4 separate regions of the Homo sapiens genome follow, and regions 2, 3 and 4 are each linked to region 1. The links are contacts of gene promoters, found by promoter capture Hi-C in blood cells and fetal thymus (Javierre and others, 2016). All regions are on one chromosome and are shown on one strand. Each heading gives the region's core, a stretch centred on a gene start or on the middle of the fragment in contact. The rest is flanking DNA. Distances are from core to core; before and after follow the strand shown.

What was found. Contacts are between HindIII fragments. The CHiCAGO score rates a contact against its expected background, and 5 or more counts as called.
Region 2: a contact is called between a fragment that was not itself captured here and the fragment with the promoter of MAP3K5 in region 1, in 9 of 17 cell types (megakaryocytes, total CD8 T cells, naive CD4 T cells and 6 more). The highest score is 9.5, in megakaryocytes.
Region 3: a contact is called between a fragment that was not itself captured here and the fragment with the promoter of MAP3K5 in region 1, in 1 of 17 cell types (megakaryocytes). The highest score is 8.1, in megakaryocytes.
Region 4: a contact is called between a fragment that was not itself captured here and the fragment with the promoter of MAP3K5 in region 1, in 3 of 17 cell types (neutrophils, erythroblasts and naive CD8 T cells). The highest score is 10.0, in neutrophils.

Annotation. Positions count from the first base shown.
Region 1 is chr6:136,791,091-136,793,790 of GRCh38, forward strand. It overlaps MAP3K5 (mitogen-activated protein kinase kinase kinase 5), which reads right to left and starts at 1,387. Exons shown (of 30, transcript NM_005923.4): 1 at 620-1,387. The coding sequence starts at 1,067. RefSeq lists enhancers at 137-652, 758-827, 1,618-1,847, 1,958-2,017, 2,388-2,467 and a silencer at 958-1,597. The HindIII fragment of the contact is 11,326 bases long and covers 1-2,700 here.
Region 2 is chr6:136,660,368-136,663,067 of GRCh38, forward strand. The region is part of intron 8 of MAP3K5 (mitogen-activated protein kinase kinase kinase 5); the gene reads right to left. Among named protein-coding and RNA genes, the nearest start is that of MAP3K5-AS1, 33 kb to the left of the region's middle. The HindIII fragment of the contact is 4,633 bases long and covers 1-2,700 here.
Region 3 is chr6:136,563,901-136,566,600 of GRCh38, forward strand. All of the region lies in intron 26 of MAP3K5 (mitogen-activated protein kinase kinase kinase 5), which reads right to left. Among named protein-coding and RNA genes, the nearest start is that of MAP7-AS1, 13 kb to the left of the region's middle. The HindIII fragment of the contact is 495 bases long and covers 1,199-1,693 here.
Region 4 is chr6:136,620,146-136,622,845 of GRCh38, forward strand. All of the region lies in intron 15 of MAP3K5 (mitogen-activated protein kinase kinase kinase 5), which reads right to left. Among named protein-coding and RNA genes, the nearest start is that of MAP3K5-AS1, 7.6 kb to the right of the region's middle. The HindIII fragment of the contact is 4,602 bases long and covers 1-2,700 here.

The DNA of each region.
Region 1 (2,700 bases), core at 137-2,636:
TAACACACAAGTTCAGTGTAAGTTGTAATGTTATTGCCTTTGGAAGCACTGTAATTACTTCAAAGTCTGGGTTGGTGAGAGGAAATTCAAGCTACTAAAACTTATCGAAGGTAAGGTGAGTTGGGAAGATCATCACATGGCATGCAAATTAATATAGTTACACTCTGCGTGCATGGTATGTCATCGTTCCCGTACTCTCAAAACTACACAGAGAAAAGGAGAACCTCATCTAAAACGGTCACAGGTATATGCAGAAAGAAAACAGGGACCAAACCTCACAGAAGCGAAACCGAGACACTGAAAGGAGAAAGACTGACTGGGGCAAATATCTCACACTGCTGGAGAACAGTTCAAGTCGATCGCATGGACCCAGGGCTCCAGCGCTGGGCGGTGGGTGGATCCATAGGTCTATCGCACAAGTACACACAGACTCTTGCACAAGCACACACGCTCTCTCCGGAGCGGCGAGCGACAGGAGCAGTCACGCAGCGGCGCTCGCTGCCCCCAAAGTGGGGCAAGAAGTAAATGCTTCCCGCCCAGAAAAATGAAATGCCCCGAAGACCGCCAGATTAAACGCGGGTCCCGACCGCGCGGGATGGGAAAGGGGTCACACACGCACCTGCATTGTAAAAGCGGTCCAGCACGGTGGTTTCTCCAAAGTCGAGTTTCCCAAAATGCAGGGTTTCCAGGGTGGCGCCCACTGTCTCGCACGCCTCCCGCAAGCTCTGCAGGGCCTCGCTCTCGGCCACCACCAGTTGCCCTTGGCTCGCTTCGTTGATCACATATGCCACCGTGGTCCGTCGGCTGCCCCCGCCAACAGAGCTGCCCCGGCCTCGGGTGGCACTGCTCGAGGAGGTGGCCGCCGGACAACCGATGCCAGGGGCAGCGGCGCTCTCCACGTTCCAGAAGCTGCCCGGCGGCGGCGGTGGCAGCTGGTGCTCCTCGCCCTCGCCCACCGCCGCCGCTCCTCCCCTCCTGCAGATGCCGCCCTCGGGGATGGTGCAGAAGCCCGAGGGGGCGAAGGGTGGCACAGAGAAAGTGATGCCCTCGTCCGCCTCCGTGCTCATCTCTCCGGGCCGGGCAGCAACGGCGGCGGCGTCCCCCGCCCAGCCGCACCGCCTGGCCAGCCACAGCTCGGGGCTGCTCCGCGCCCGCCGGGCTAAGCAGCTGCCATCGCGCGCCGCGCCCTCGCCGCCGCGCCGCCGCCTCCTCTCCGGCGCCCTCTCCCCCGAGGGCACGCCGCTGCCCGGCGGCGGCTCGCTCCTCCTCGGCGCCTCCGTGGCCGCGCCGCTCGCCCTCTGCAGAGTTTAGAGTACAAGGGGTGGGGAAGCCGGGTGAGCGGGAAGGGACGGAGCTTCCTTTTCTTGGCCGGCTGACAAGTCGGCTCGCAAACCTGCGCCGCGGTGCAGCTCAAGGGCGCCGCGCTCGGGGTGCAGCCCGCCCTCGCCACCCGCCGCGCCGCGCCGCGCCGCGCCGCGCAGCTCCTTCCGTCCCGGCCGCTCTGGGAGGGGCCAGGAAGGGCGCCCCCTGGGTGCGGAGCTACCTGGCGCGCACCTTACGAGCGGGCTGGCTCCCCAGGCGGCGTCCCGGAACAGCAGCAGCGGCAGCCGAAAGGACCCTCCTCCCTCTTAGGCGGCAGCTCGCCTTCATCGGGTGGATTTCCTCCTCCTTGCCTGGCCTCGTTTCTCTTTCGATCGCCTCCGCCGCGTGGTCCCGGCGCCAGCCTCGTCGTTCCTTGCAGACGCTCTCCCTCTCCACCACCAGCTTCTGGCCACCCACTCGTAGCGGCACCGAGGGTCAGGGCCAGCCCCCAAGGAGGGCGCTGCTAGGAAGCTCGAGCCCGGACTGAACTGACCGCGCTGCGGCCCTGGGACCCCAGCCCTCCTCTGAGTGCTGCGCGTGGCATAGGGTCCCAGTCTTCACCCACCCGGCCCCCACCTACGAAGACCTGGAGCGCAAGCGATTACGGGGTGGCGCAGAAAGTCCCTCGAGGCAATACTCGGTCTTCGGAGTCCGCCCCTGAAGCATTTCCAGTGTTCCCCGCGACTAGGGCGCCCCCCTCCGGGCCTTGGCGGCCTGGTGGACTGGGACCGTGCGCGGCGCTGGCAGGATAGGCTCCGGGAGACCCACGTTGCGCGAGGCAGGAGGTTGTACATAGCGCCCTGGAGCCAGGGCCTGCACTGGAGGTTGCTTCATTAGTGACTGTGGCACTCCAGAAGTGGCTGGCTAAATTGATCAGGTTCTCCCATGTACTTTTCCTTTTAAAATTTCCAGTGGCTCATTCCGTTATCAGTAATGAGTAATTGATTAGTGCCAACTGCCGAAGGACTTAGTATTCTCATTTAGGATCTTAATTCCCCCACAAGCGCCAGATACTTAAGATAGAAGATGGAGTCTCTACCCGACTCCACAAATTATCAACAAGATGAAACAGGGGAATAACGTGACCTATTCTATTTTTTAAACTGCATCACGCGAGGCCGGGAGGGAAATACCCAGATTGTTTAAGAGCAATCAAAAAAAGTACCTGCTTATTTGGGGAGCAAAGAACAGATGTGTAAGTTCCCAGAGAACCCCAGAATGCTGTAATTGTTAGGAAAGCCAGTGCAAGTTACAACTGAGTAAAGAAACAGGTTTTGTACTTCCCATCTCCAGGAACTGAGACTAGTGAGTCCTGTGAAAAAGGCAGAAGAAAATGTA
Region 2 (2,700 bases), core at 158-2,657, 130 kb before region 1:
ATAGCAAGATTCTGTCTCATGAAAAAAAATTTAAAATCTAAAAAAAAGAAAAAACAGAAAAAAAAAGGAACTAGACTGACAGATAATACTGTCTTGTTATGTCACTGTCTTAAAAGTCCTGAAATCCGGTAATGTAGATACTCCAACTTTGTTCTTTTTCAACACTGTTTTGGCACTTCTATGTTCTTAATGTTTCATTATATATTTTCAATTCTACTATGTCTTGTATTATTTTTGCATTTTATAAGTATTTGTTTGCTTAAAAAAATATATCCTTGTAGCATTGTTTGGTGCCACTAACATCCATCACATTAAATTGTTGGGAAAATTATCTGAGATTTAGAAATAAGGCAAAAAGGTAGGATATATCATTTCAATATCATATGGGAAGATAAGGCCACTCAAGGACTATCTCAGGAAAGTGACGCTAGTTCATCTCATTATGTACTACTTATTAAAGGTCCCAGACTTACAGAAGTTTACTTGTTAACTTGCAGATTTTTGTCCAGTAGAGATGCAAATTTCTGTAGAGTGGAATGGATAAATCCCTAAGATTTATGGCCTGTGGACACAAAACAGCTTTTTTTTTTTTCCTTAATCAAACTCAGATATCTTATCTTAACATTTCTTTGTTGTCTATGAATAGAAATGTTTTTTGAACTGGACATTCCATCTTACTAGTTTCCATATTAGTTGAGTTAAATAAAATATTTTCTATGTGTCTATTTTATATTTGCTGAGGGTCATGATTTTATATGTGTCCATTTTATATTTGATGAGAGTCATGATTTTAGCTTTTTGAAAATTATCTGTGAAAGAAACAAAATAACATTTAAAATTTTTCATGTTACTTTTTATCGTATAATTCCACTCAAACCACAAGTATTTCAGGAAAATGTCCATTTGGGAATTCTTCACATTTTGTGAGGGTAAAGAGAGAACAGCTTTGCCACTGCTGTTTCACGAGATGAAAAAAAAATATTACACACGCATAGGACAACATCCACGGTCTTCTATCTGGATATAATTTTGTTGTTGTTGTTTTTGAGACAAGGTCTCACTCTGTCGCCCAGGCTGGAGTGCAGTGGCACGATCACTGCTCAATGCAGCCTTGAATTTCTGGGCTCAAGTGATCCTTCCACCTCAGCCTCCCAGGTAGCTGGGAGTACAGGCATGAGCCACCACACCTAGCTAAATTTTGTTTTTTTTTCCTGGAAAAACAAGGTTTCGCCATGTTGCCCAGCCGAACTCCTGGGCTCAAGTGATCCTCCTGCCTTAGACCTGCTAGCTGAGATAACAGATGCTACCACAACTGGCTAATTAAATTTCTTTGTAGTTTCTACTTTTTATTTTTTTGTAGAGACGGTCTCATTCTGTGGGCCAGGCTCATCTCGAACTCCTGGGCTCAAGCAGTCCTCTCGCCTTGGCCTCCCAAAGTTCTGGGATTACAGGCATGAACCACCATACCTGACCCAATAATAGTTTTAAAATAAAATTTCAGATGCACTCTTGAACCTCAGAAGTTCATTTTGTGGTGGTGATATTTGGTTTTGGCCTTGCCATACATTTATCACATGATTGTGACACCCAGCCAGCATTTGGATAAAATGTATATTTTTGATGTCAATTAGTATTTTAGCATATGGATGTATCATAATTTATTTACCCAAATGCAGATGGGTGGCCATTTTTATTACTCTAAACATTCTTGTACACACAGCTTTGTGTATTTGCTCAATTATTTCTTTATAATACAGTTCTAAACGTGGATTTGTTAGGGACAGAAGACATGCCCATTTTTAGTGTTGATGCATTTTTGCCAAATTGCCCTTAGAAAATGCTGTACCAATTTATACTTTCACTGGAGGCATCTGACAATAAGGTCTTACCCACACCCTTCCCAGTGAGGGGGACTATCACGTGCATTCATCTTTACCAATATGACAGAGGAAAAAAAGGAACATTGTCTTTTTTAACCGCTGAGATTGGCTCTCTTTTCATGTTTGTATTTCTTTTGTGAATGAGCATTTATGCTCTTTGCACAAACTTGTTTCTACATGAAGACATTAATCTTTTAAGTATGGAGTTAAGAACATGGCTCTAATTTTTTATATTTAGAAGTCCGTTCTCTCTGTCTCTTCCTTTCTCTCTCTCCCTCTCTCTCTTCCTTTCTCTCCCTCTCTCTCTTCCTTTCTCTCTCTCTCTTCCTCTCTCTTTCTCTCTCACACCCACACAGAATATAGAAATAAACATCTTAGTGCATCAAATTTGTTTTGTATTTAGGATTTTTTCCATAGGATAGAATTTCAGGAGTACTGTTATACTTGGTTCCAGACTAAAATATTTTTAGGCTCTTCATCCATACAGAAAAATTAATAAAGCACAATTCGTGATGTTCAGTTGTACCTTTTTAACCAAGTCCTTCCAGATCAATATTTTTCTCTATTTAAAAATATTTTGGTTGAATTTTTAAGCAATGAGCAGTATGTCATTGCTGTGTTAACAACCACTTCACCATTTATTTGATTCAGTTGCATATTTATGCAATTTAAATGCTGACAATGCTGTCATTAAAATTGGTTGACTTACACTGAGGATTTTTTAATCATTTACTTTTTGTCATAGTCTTATCACCTTGCAGCTGTTATTATGTTCAAGGCTGTTTTAGTGGAAAATGGCAGACTTTACTGAATACTCAGA
Region 3 (2,700 bases), core at 196-2,695, 230 kb before region 1:
CTCAAGAGTTTGTTTCTGCTTCACTTGACATAATCTGAAGGCAGCATCGTGCAACTGACAGATCTGGGCTTGTGTCCTGGTTCAACCCTGCACTTCCTGTGTTAACCTTAGATAAATTACCTAATGCCTCCAGGCTTCAGTTTTCAAATCATTTGTAAAAAAGAAAACTAAAGCTTCCAGAAAAGATTATTGTGAGCATTAAATGAGACAGCATAGGTACAGTGCCAAGTCAGTGTCTGGTCTTTAATAAGGGATGTTCTGTTCCTTGCTACCTCAGTCCCTGGAAAAGAGCCTTTCCAGGACTCAGTGGGAAGGAAACCTTCCCAGACCCCCAGGCTCGACCCCATTCCCACAGGACATAAAGATGAGATCCTCAGAGAGAAGGGATCACAGCAGAGTAGGTAGCAGAGGTGGGACAAAAGTAAAACACAATAAGAGGTAGACAGAGAAGGTGGGTGGAGGAAAATAAGTTAACAAAGACAGCTGCAGGGTAAGTGTGGTGCACAATGAGGTGGATGAAGCAGCATGAACTGAAAGCTAGAAGAGGGAGCACAGGGTCTTGGAGGGAGGCTTCTTATCTCTTTCAAAACAAATATTATCCAAAGAAATGGGCAGGAAGCTCTGTGTGAATGTTTAAGTTGGCAGTTTTTTGATCTGGTATGTATTTTTGTCCTACTTGCTAATTTATACGTATAAGACAGTGATGGTATCTTCTTACTGTTTTCTCAAGGAACACAGTGATGTTTTCTAGAGTTTAACCTATGTTTGTCTAGACTATGTAATTTCTTTTTATCTTTTGTTAAAGTGAATGAAATATGGCCTGAGAAGGACTCCGTACTTGCATATTTGAGTCCTCGTGGACAAACTATAACTTAACAGGTAGACAAGATTGAAAACCTAACTTAGGAGTATGCGTCTATAACAATAGCTGAGTCTTGGCTAATCCCAGGAGCCATACTTCAACCACTCATACACTGCTGAGTGTTCAAATAAGGTGAACGCCAACCCATAACAAATCCAGCTCTTTCTGCACACTTCTGATTTCTGTACGTCACTTTACTTTTATTTTCTATAAATTTGTTCTGGCCACGAGGCATCCCTGGAATCTCTCTGAATCTGCTGTGATTCTAGAGGCCACCTGATTCACAAACTATTTTTTTCTTTTTCAATTAAACTCCATTAAATTTAATTTGTCTGAAGCTTTCTTTTAACACCTTAAACACCAGAACTTCAACACTGGAAGCAGAGTATTGACAGCCCACCTCATTTGCTCCGAATCCAGCTCTTAGAAGTATTTATCTTAAGAACAATCCAGTACATCAATTTTATTTTTATTTTGTGTTTATTTAGCAGGGCAATATTTTGAAATCAAGGCAACTGTCTGCCTTTCTGTTCCAAAAAAGTATGGCAGGATCTGCCATGAGGTCAATTTTTAACCTTGGATGGGCAGGGGTGATGAGGTGGATTGGTGGGTAATTCCAGAACTGTAGGATGGGGAAATTAAATAAACAGGCAGCTCCTCTTGAGACAGGTTTTTGTTTTTGTTTTTGAGATAGGGTCTTGCTCTGTCACCCAGGCTGGAGTGCAATGGTGCAATCATGGCTCACTGTAGCCTCAACCTCTTGGGCTCAGGTGATCCTCCAAGCAGGATAAACCTGATTTCCCTTCATCAGTGATCATCCTAAATATTCTAAGCTTACAATTTTTAATATGAGAGCTACAACCTTTCCTGAAAACACACTAACATTTCCTCTAGATTCATTTTGCGGTAGGTATGCCTTTATATTTCAGGTAATATTCAACTGAAAATTAGAAGGACCAATATGGACAGGACTGGTCCCTTATTTCAATTACTTGGTTTTTGTACTAAAGCAGCTGTCCTTTCTTCAAATCATGCATGAAGCAAACATCGTCCCTCATCTCACTTTTCTGTGGGTGATGGAAAGCCGTGGGAGATATTACTGAAAAAGGAAAAACGAGGCTGATTATCTGTAGATTTCACAGACTCAAATGTAAATATGCAGAGGAAAAAGCGTAAATGTGTGGGTTGTTGTGACATACTAATGTAATAAAGAAATGTGGGTAAATACTAGTCTTTTCAACAGAGATGGGCAGATGTGAGAAGCAGGCCCTCAGCTAGAACCAAGAGACACTCAGAAGAGAAAGGGGAAGCTGTGAAGAAAGCGGCCGGAAGCCCTCAGGGACTGCAGATGGCCCAAGCATGGTAGACAGACAGTGGCGCCAGGGTGGCGAGCACAACGCTAACCAAATAGGCCAAGGAGAGAAGGAAAAGGACTTGTGTCTAGGCTGCATTAGGAGAGGCAGGTCCTATTGACACAGCCAGGTGTGTAGACAGGAGGTTTCAGGGCCAGAAAAGCAGATATACCAGCTCTTTGGTAAACAAAGTAGTTTTACTATCTGCGTAATTCTAACCAGAAGGCATGGGTGGGAGGAGGTCAACCAAAACAGTAATGAGTGAACTTTCCTCCTCCAGAGATCACAGCAGGAGTCCAAAAAACACCACCACTCAGGACTGGGCAACAGAGAGTAACCTAGAGATAAGTGACTAACATGGACACCTTCCATAACGATGGGGTGTTATCCTTGGACTCTTGCTTGAGAAGAGGAGGAATGAGGGAAACCAAGATTTCCATGAAGTCTCAGAAGAGAAAAGACCCAAGTTCTTTCCCACTAAATAGT
Region 4 (2,700 bases), core at 110-2,609, 170 kb before region 1:
TGTAATCCCAGCTACTCAGGAGGCTGAAGCATGAGCATTGCTTGAACTCGGGAGGTGGAGGTTGCAATGAGCTGAGATGGGGCCACTGCACTCTAGCCTGAATGACAGAGTGAGTCTCTGACTTAAAGAAATAAGGAAATAAAAATAAAATCTGGGTTTGCTATTGGGTTACATACTCACTACCTAGGTATATTTGATGGATTCCTTTGTACTCCAAACCTAAGCAACACACAATATTCTTTTGTAACAAACCTGCGCATGTACCCCCTGGTTCTAAAATAAAAGTTAAAAAAGGAAAAAAATCCAGGTTCAGTTTTGGTCCTGTTAACCTTGAGATGCCTTTGAGATCTATAACTGGAGATGTGGGGTAGACAGGTAACCTGGGGAGCTCAGGGGTGGGTCCTTCCTAAGGAAGGCTGGTCATGTGGCCTATGACCACGGCCACAGAACGTGGAGTCAAGGGCAGCCAGAGTCAGCCCATGATGTAGCCCAGCATTAAAGCCTGGCCAAATATGGATAATAATAACCATCTATTAAATAATCCAATCTTCTCTCTTTCAGACTTTGAATACACAACACACACAACTGTGTATCATACACTACAACTGCGTTGCACTAATTACAGGAGCACTGCCTTACAGAGAGATGTAAGGGAAGCCCTAAGGCAGCAGAAATCATGAGGTTGAGAGAAGACAGAATTATTAGTTGGAGAAATAAACCATAAGGCAGAGCACAAGAGCAGTGAGCAACAGATAATCCTATCACCAGAGCGCTTCAGTTTCCTGAACATTTTTGTTCCTAAAAAAGATTCCACCTTTCACAAGGCCTCACTATGTGAGATTCAACTCATTTCTTCAAGCATAGGTTGGTGCAAAAGTAATTGCGGTTTTTGCCATTAATTACTTTTGATGGCAAAAATGTATATATTATACATTTTGTAGTTGTCACACAGTTCTTGGATATTGTCCCAGTTTTTTTTTTCAGTCTTTTTTCTCTTTGCTTTTTTAATTTTGAAAGTTTCTACTGATATATTCCGAAACTCAGAGATTCTTTAACTGTGCCCAGTCTACTAATAAGCCATCAAAGCCATTCTTCACTTCTATTACTGTTTTTGATCTCCAGCATTTTTAAAAATTATTCCTAGGATTTCCATCTCTGAGCTTACATTACCATCTGCTCCTGCACAATCTCTACCTTTCCATGAGAGCCCTAAGCATGTGAATACGATTCACAATCTGATAACTCTAATATCCCCGCCATATCTGGTTCAGGTTCTGACACTTGCTATGTTGCTTAAACTGTGTTTTTTGTCTTTCAGTATGCCTTATAGTTTTCTATAGAAAGGTGGACATGATATCCTAGGTGAAAGTGCTGCAGTAAATAGGCCTTTAGTGATGTGGTGGGAAGCAGTCAGGGAGGGGAAGAGTTCGACAGGTCTGTGATTAGGTCTCAGTCTTTTAGTGAGCCAGTGCCCCTGGGCTGTGAATTTTACAAGTGCTCCTTAGCTTTAGCCCCCTTAGGTGAGACAGGACAGCTAGAGTTGGGCTAAATTTGGTACTCCACTTCCCCTAGTTTGGTTAGGCTCCGGTAAAATAGAGTCTCTTGTGGACAGACCTTGTTAAGAACAGAATGCTTCAGCGTATTTAAAAATGGTGACTTTGCCGGGCATGGTGGCTCACGCCTGTAATCCCAGCACTTTGGGAGGCCGAGGCGGGCGGATCACGAGGTCAGGAGATCAAGACCGTCCTGGTTAACACGGTGAAACCGCGTCTCTATTAAAAATACAAAAAATTAGCCAGGCGTGGTGGCAGGCACCTGTAGTCCCAGCTACTCAGGAGGCCGAGGCAGGAGACTGGCATGGACCCAGGAGGTGGAGCTTGCAGTGAGCCGAGATCGTGCCACTGAACTCCAGCCTGGGTGACAGAGCAAGACTCCGTCTCAAAAAAAAAAAAAAAAGAAATAGTGACTTTTCCTTTCTTGCTGCCAGAAGCACAATGGGATTTCTCTTATTTCAAGTCTCTCTGAGGACCTGGTAAAGCTCCAAAACTCATGAAAGTGTGACCCTCATCCCCAGCCCTCAGTGACTGGGTCCCACTGGAGTTTTTAACTCAGACTTCACAGTGGGCCTCTAGAGATTTGTCAGTTACAGTTCAGTTTTCCTACCCCAGCACTGGTTCCCACAGAGGTGAGCAGATCATGGATTTCTGCTCAGTAAGTTATGAGTCTCTCAGTTTTCCAGTCTCTCCAATTTCAGGGGCAGCTGCCTCCCTTGCAACTTCACGGACGAATCCAAGAAGAGCCACTGATTTCAGTCTCTTCAGCTTTCTACTTGTTAAGATGGAATGACAACTTCCAAGCTCCTCACATGCCCGACTGGAACCTAGAACTGGTTCCAACCTAAACGATTTCTGATAGTGCTTATTCCTCATCTATTCACATAATACATCCACCTTTATCCAAGACAACCTGAGCCTAACACACACAGGGCCATTCTCTTTTCTAGTCTTTGAAAGCCCCGTTCTTCCCCACCAGTCTGGCACTTCAAACACTGAATGATGCAGCAGCGAAACCTCAGAAGGAGCTAATTCACAGAGTGAAGTTTTCACAGTTTCATTCATTAGAATATCATCAAGTATTTTCTAAAATACTGTCAACAACCCAAAGTACTACAGAACAGCTTTTAGTAGCTACAATTACTGT